Regions from separate parts of the Homo sapiens genome. Here region 1 is linked to region 2. The links are contacts of gene promoters, found by promoter capture Hi-C in human tissues and cell types (Jung and others, 2019). All regions are on one chromosome and are shown on one strand. Each heading gives the region's core, a stretch centred on a gene start or on the middle of the fragment in contact. The rest is flanking DNA. Distances are from core to core; before and after follow the strand shown.

The links. The method cuts DNA at HindIII sites, captures the fragments that hold promoters and counts their contacts. A contact is called where the count stands out against the background at its distance.
Region 1: a contact is called between a fragment that was not itself captured here and the fragment with the promoter of CHD4 in region 2, in 2 of the 25 tissues and cell types used here (mesendoderm cells and thymus).

Annotation. Positions count from the first base shown.
Region 1 is chr12:6,526,946-6,530,200 of GRCh38, reverse strand. It overlaps NCAPD2 (non-SMC condensin I complex subunit D2), which reads right to left. Exons shown (of 32, transcript NM_014865.4): 22 at 3,138-3,255; 23 at 2,313-2,424; 24 at 2,110-2,233; 25 at 1,873-2,028; 26 at 1,345-1,522; 27 at 1,162-1,256; 28 at 608-688; 29 at 243-426. Among named protein-coding and RNA genes, the nearest start is that of GAPDH-DT, 5.8 kb to the left of the region's middle. The HindIII fragment of the contact is 4,988 bases long and covers 1-3,255 here.
Region 2 is chr12:6,605,624-6,608,640 of GRCh38, reverse strand. It overlaps CHD4 (chromodomain helicase DNA binding protein 4), which reads left to right and starts at 1,262. Exons shown (of 40, transcript NM_001273.5): 1 at 1,262-1,341; 2 at 2,190-2,367. The coding sequence starts at 2,268. It overlaps LOC124902867 (a long non-coding RNA gene), which reads right to left and starts at 2,755. Exons shown (of 2, transcript XR_007063193.1): 1 at 2,646-2,755. RefSeq lists enhancers at 642-791, 2,532-2,691 and silencers at 1,382-1,481, 1,892-1,951, 2,132-2,181. The HindIII fragment of the contact is 15,757 bases long and covers 1-3,017 here.

The sequences.
Region 1 (3,255 bases), core at 101-2,600, 79 kb after region 2:
AACTATTAAAAACAAACAAACAAGAATTGGATGAGATGCTGCTTTGGTTGTGTTTTTGGAGTAATAAAAAAAGAACTGGAGACAAAGATCTGGTCTTAGGTCACTCTGGCAATTTGGTTGCAACCCAGCTGGGGATAAGGAGGACGGGAAGGTGACTGCAAGAGCCGTATGCTGCCCAGGGCCGGCAGATGTCTTAGCCAGCCCAGAACCCAACAGGCATTGAAGTGTCCTGTGCTGCTCACCTTGCCCTCAGGCTTGGCCCCACGTCGCAGCTTGCCTACAACTGACAAAAAAGCACTGAAGATGGACTCATCTGACAGTTTGTCTCCAAAACAGTCAAAATTGTCAAGCATCTTACGGAGGCCTCGCTCTGTGAGGGGCAGCTGTGACACACAGTAGGCCAGGTCTCGCTGCTGCCGCTCAGTTCTGCAGATAGGAAGGGCTTTGTGAGGAACTGGGAGATCCAGCTAGTAAAGGCTCAACCTTCCCCATCAGCCTCCCCAGTCCCAGGGATGCCACAGTGGGGGCATTGAAGGGGTGAGGGATGGGCCTTTCTCCCCTGCAGGGCCCCGCTCAGCACAAAGAACCCTCAGGGAGGGCAGCATACCGGGATGTGCGGAACCGCTGACACAGCTTTTCCACCAGGCTCTCTGTCTGCTTGTCCTTGGTGATGTAGGAGAGGAGCTGTCTGCAGGAAGGGGAGATGAGGATGTTCGATGGCCCAGGGCCAGCTCTGCCATCCACTAAGACCAACCCTGGACCCTCCCCCAGCACTCGTCTTCTCTGATGTTCTCTGCCACGGCCCCTGTCTGCCTCACCACTCCCCTTGCCCTGTCCCATTCAGCAGAGAGGGACCCCACCCCGCCCCCGGCTCAGGAATTTTCACTGTGAATGGAAATTAACAGGAGCAGCTGCTAGGGAGTGAGTGCTACTGTATGTCTGCCACCATGTTAGGAACTTTATCGTATTTAATATTTTCAAGAACTAAGGGTTAAGTATCATCAGCCTCAAAAGAAGAGGAAATAGGCACAAAGAGAGGCTAAGTTATTGCCGAAGGCTGTACAGCTAAAGAGTAGCCGAGGTGGAATTCAAATACAGGTGTGTCTGATTCCTAAGCCCGTGCTATGTGGAAAATGTGCCCCAGGGCCCGGGGAGCAATACTTCATGATGGTGTGGAAAGGCTCTTCCTCCACCCCCAGCTCGGGGTCTGACAGGCGGCTGATGATATCTGGAAGGAGATTATAGATTGCGTTGCCCTGTAAGACAGAGAGAGCCATGTTAAGGAGATGAGGTGACCTACAGATTCCCTCTGCAGCCAGCCCTCAGTGCCTCTCTGCCTCTCACCTTGTGGGAGAGCTCATTGAAGAAGTTCTTGGCCAGGGCAGCAATCTGAGGCTCGGGGTCGATGAGCAGCACCGCCATCTCGCTGACCTGCCCCTTCACCTTCACCATGTCCTTGAGGATCAGGTGGGTCATCACCAGCCCCGCTGTTTTCCGCACTTGCTGAGCAGGGTCCCGGAGACTAGGAATGGAATTGCGGGTCATGGGGACCGAGACCTCCGGGCTACACCCTAACACTGGTAGAAAAGGCCCTCAGCAGGAATCAATTATCCCATGCTCTGCCACTCCAGAAGCAGTCAGAAAGCTGTCTAGAGTTGAAAGCTGGAGTGGGGGAAAGAGGTGAAGCTTCTAACCAGAAGTGTCAGTCCCACTGGGGTGACTCTTAGCCAGGGGCCTGTACAGGTCAAGTATCAAGCAGATGTTCGCGGTGATGCCAAAGCCTAGGGGAAGAGCCCTGGTGATTCTCACACTGACTCTCAACAGACTCCGGGGCTCCTGGGAACTGCCACCACGTTGTGAGGGGTCTCTTACCGAGCATACAGATGAGGAGTCCAGGGGTCCACCAGATTGGGAAAGCGGATGGCCAGATCCCCAGTGGCAACCATGAGGTTAGACCGGACAATGGGAAGTGGAGACTTTTCCAGCATGGTGAACAGAAGACGAAGCTGGGAGTCGCAGAAAGTGGCACTAAGAGCAAGAAGAGGATCATTAGGGAAGCCATTTCATCCCCATCTTCCTTGAGAAGGGGGTACCAACCCCACGGCCTACCTGATCATGCAGAACTTGCCAAGGGCAAGTGAAGCAGCTGCAGAGAGGTCTGGGTTGCTATAGAGGCCTGGGTTGTTACAGACTTTAAGCAAGAGTGGAACAAAGGCAGCCAGTGTCTGTTTGCCTGTTGGAAGAGTAACTGCAGGTTTGGGACAGGTTATCTTAATTGGGAAGAAACTGCTGAGTGCAGCCATTTTTCTTACCATCCAACAGTTCCATCTCGCAGATGCCACGGATTAGTTCTGCCTCTGTGTCATCTGCTGTTGCCCCAACCAGCCCCAGCTCCTCCTCCATGGTGGTCTCAGAGCTCGTATTCTAAAGGGAATGAAATTGGGGATCATGGATAAGCAGAGACAACATTTTTGATTCCAGCCCATACTTTGTTTTGCATGAACAAAGTGAGGAAGGGCAAATTCTACAAAAACATTTAGAGAATTGTCAAATGTGTCTGTAAAGAGAAAGGATTCCTGAATTAAGCAGGGGAACAATGAGGTCCCCATTTGTTTTAAGTTGCCAAAGCGTGTTTCTGCACCTCTTCCTCATGGAAGACATCGTTTCCTATATATGGTAAACAGATGGATCACGCCAGACAATGGTTCAAAGTCACAGAGGTCAGACTTTTCTCCAGCGCTGCAAGGCTCTGTGTCTTATTTGTCTGCAAGACATCATTGCCTCTAGTGGAGGGAACACAGGGCCCCATCCGGGGCCAGGCCAGCAATGGAAGCTGATGGAAAAGGCCGGCGGGTACGTGCGTGTTCTAACAAACCCTGCCTCAGACACAAAGCCTCTGTTTTATGCTGAGGTCTCTAACTCCACACTCTGCATTTACCTAAATCTTTCCTTCCTGGGTGATCACTGACAGTTTCGTCATTGTTCACACGAACCTTTCCTACGGTAGTAGCCACAGAGAGGCAGAAACTCTTCGCTTCATGTAATAGCAGAGGAGCAGAGATTGCCGGAAGGGGATCAGCTCAGTTCTGAGCTGAGGTATGAAATAAATCTGGGAAGTGCTGAGGACATTCACACACCTTCTCCTTGGGATCTTTGGTCTTGTGCTCCTGTTCTTCCCGGAGAACTCGGCGCCGGCAGAGCTCTCCACTCACTGCCTGCTCCAAGTGGACCAGCTGCTGCAGAGCCACATCCCCA
Region 2 (3,017 bases), core at 13-2,512:
AAAGGGATTAAGGTGTGTGCAAGTGGGGGCGGGGACAAGGAAGCGTGGGTAGCCTGCCTGGCCCTCCCTGCTCTGGGTGTTAGAATAGACTGACAGCGCCTGGAGATGGGGGTGGGAAGAATATGAATATTATGGGATGCCTGGCTCGAAGGGTATAGGGGTGGTAGAGTGGAGATGAAGCATTATGGGATGTGACACTGGGTTGTGTTGGGAGTATTATGGTATGTTTGGTTGACCACGGGCTCCTTGCAATTATTATGGGATGTCAGGATGTGGGTAGGAGAGTAAAATTATTATGGGATAGCTTTCCAGTGTTAGAGGAAAAGAGATTAGATGTCCATCTGTGGGGCGACAGTAGGGCTGTTGATCATTATGGGTTATCTTTTTGATAGAGGAGGGGTACTTACTATAGGCTGTGGAGCTAGAAGAGGGAAGGCTGGGGGTGATGTGAGCCTCTAGACCCTGGCCTGCAGGGACTGAGGGCAGCTCTAGGGGGTTAGTTATTATGGGATGTCAGTATAGAAAGTGGGAGACTGATTATTACGGGATGTGTGTGGGAGGAGGCCGAGTGTCCGTTGTTGTAGTATGGGGGGGGGTGAGTTTCTGACTATTATGGGATATCAAACTGGGGGTGGATGAAGGATGGTTATTATGGGATGTCTGTGGGGGATGGGGCTGAATATTATGGGATATGAGGCATAAGTGCTGCGAGGGGTGCTTATTATGGGATGGCCATGGGGAGGGAGGGGTGATGAATTATTATGGGATGTTAGCATTAGGTCCAAGAGTGAAGAAGAAGTTGGCAAAGGATGTCTATTATGGGATGTCTAAGAGGGTTAGTTGCAAAAGGTCTGCAATATTTTGAGATGTCAGCAGTCTCTGGCATATGTGTATGAAATGTGGGGGGGCAGGGTGTGTGTGTGTTGTGTGTGTGTGTGTGTGTGTGTGTGTGTGTGTGTGTGTGTGTGTTGGGGGGGGGGGTGTCCGTGTGTATTATGGGATGGCCAGGAGGTGGGCGGTTGCCCAGGTGACGCGCGCGCGCCCGCTGCGAAGGGGGCGTGGCCAGTGGTTGCCTGAGCGACGAGGGGGCGGGGGTTGCCCGGGAGACCTGGGGAGGAGGGTGGCGGTAGTGGAAGGGGGGGGTTGGAGTTGGTTGAGGTTATTATGGGCTGTCCGTGGGGGGGCGGGGCCTGTGCGGTGGGATTTCCCGGCCGGTGTTTCAGGCCCTTTAAGAGGCGACGCTGGAGCCGGAGCCATTTTCCCCCCTTCGGCCGCGGCGAGGAGGAGCCGGAGCGGGAGTGACACCGAGCCGGACCCAGCGCGACCTGCGGCGGCTCCGGGGTGAGGAGAGCGCGGGGTTCCCAAAGAGACGCCCCTCACGGCCCTACCAGCCCCGAGGGTCATCCCGTCACCCGCCCCTTCCTCAGGCGTCTCCGGACCCGCGGACCGCCCCTTGCCCAGAGGAGCCGACCCTTCCTTTCCTGGCCCTGCAGGGCGCCCGGCCTCCTCCCCAGCCCCCGCCCTAACCCTGCCGGAGTCTTGCTCCCCGCGACCCCCCGCCTCCGGCTTGGTCTCCCACAATGCCCGGCGCCCACCCCCTCGCCCTTTGATCACTTGCCCCCCGGGACACGTGGCCCGGCCCCCTTCCCGGTGGGACGCTTTCGCCCCCCGCGTCCCTGCCTCCGGCCCCCCGCAGCGCCCGAGCCTCCACGCCCCCTCGTCCCCGCAGCTCTTGAGGAGAACCTGAGTTGTCCCAGAGGACAGCCTTTGGAGAGCTGCCCTGTCTGGGGACTGGCCCCTCCCCGGGCGCAGGGAGGCGCCCCCCCACCCCCAAGTGACCTTGTGTCCCCGAGCGCCTCGCCGCCTGCGGCCTCCCCTGGCCCCCCCGCGCCGCTGCCACTCGGACCCCCTCCCCCGTCACACCCCGCTCGGTCCAGCCCCGCGTCTCCCCTCCCCGCGCTTGCACCAGCCTGCCCTCGGAGGCGTCGCTCCCTCGCTCCGTGGGGGCGCCTGCCGGGGAGCCGGCTTCCGGGCTGCCCCCGAGGAGTGTGGAACTAAGTTCAGCCTGAGCGGTTCGGGTGCCCTGCTAGGGTGGCTGGGGTGGGGGGCGGAAAGAGCGGGTGGGTGTGGGGGAGGGGGACAGTGCGCGTCACTGACTGTTCTGTGTTTCTCCCCCCTCCCCCGCACAGTGACTCGGGCCAGTGTAGAGGTCCTCAGGCCGCCGGCAGGAGCAGCTGGGCCAATTCCCTGGCCGGGAGCGGAAGGGGATGGCGTCGGGCCTGGGCTCCCCGTCCCCCTGCTCGGCGGGCAGTGAGGAGGAGGATATGGATGCACTTTTGAACAACAGCCTGCCCCCACCCCACCCAGGTAACATCTTCCCCAAGGGCCCATGGCGGGAAGGAGACATCTGGGGCTCTCCCGAGTGACTCCTCTGGTGAGGCAGGGCTGTGTTGCTCCGCTGTCTCTGTGCAGAGCCGGAGGTGGAGGGTATCCGAAGGGAGTGGTTCCCTTCTGCGGAGCTCTGGTGTGAGGGGGGTGGAAGCCATGTGCCTCCTGGGCACGGAGATGCCAGCTTGCTGCACTCTGTCTTGAGGAATGCTCTGCAGTTCCCAGTTGAGGGAGCTCTCTGGGCTGGCAGGCATTACCTGGTATGTGGGTCCTCGGAGGAATGCAGGTAGCTGGGACCCCTGGAGGCTTGTGGTGGTGGTGGTGGAGGGGGGCGTTGAGGATTCTGTTTGAAAGACCAGCCGGGCATCTGTGCTAGTAGGATCCTGTGGTTGCTGCTGTGGAAAGGAAAGAGGGAGTGCTGGTTACACTCTATCTGATTATTTTTAGCTTCTGATCGGTTACCGGTTTTCTGTGCTGTCTGAACTGTGTGAAGTTTGAATCGCGCTCCTCAGCAGGATCTGGAGTGCTTAAAGCAGCCAGGCAGATTGCTGGAATGTTTTGAGTGGGGAAGTGATGGGGGCTCGGGGAGGATGTAATAGCCTAGTGAAGAGGGGCAAAAGAAGGGAGGG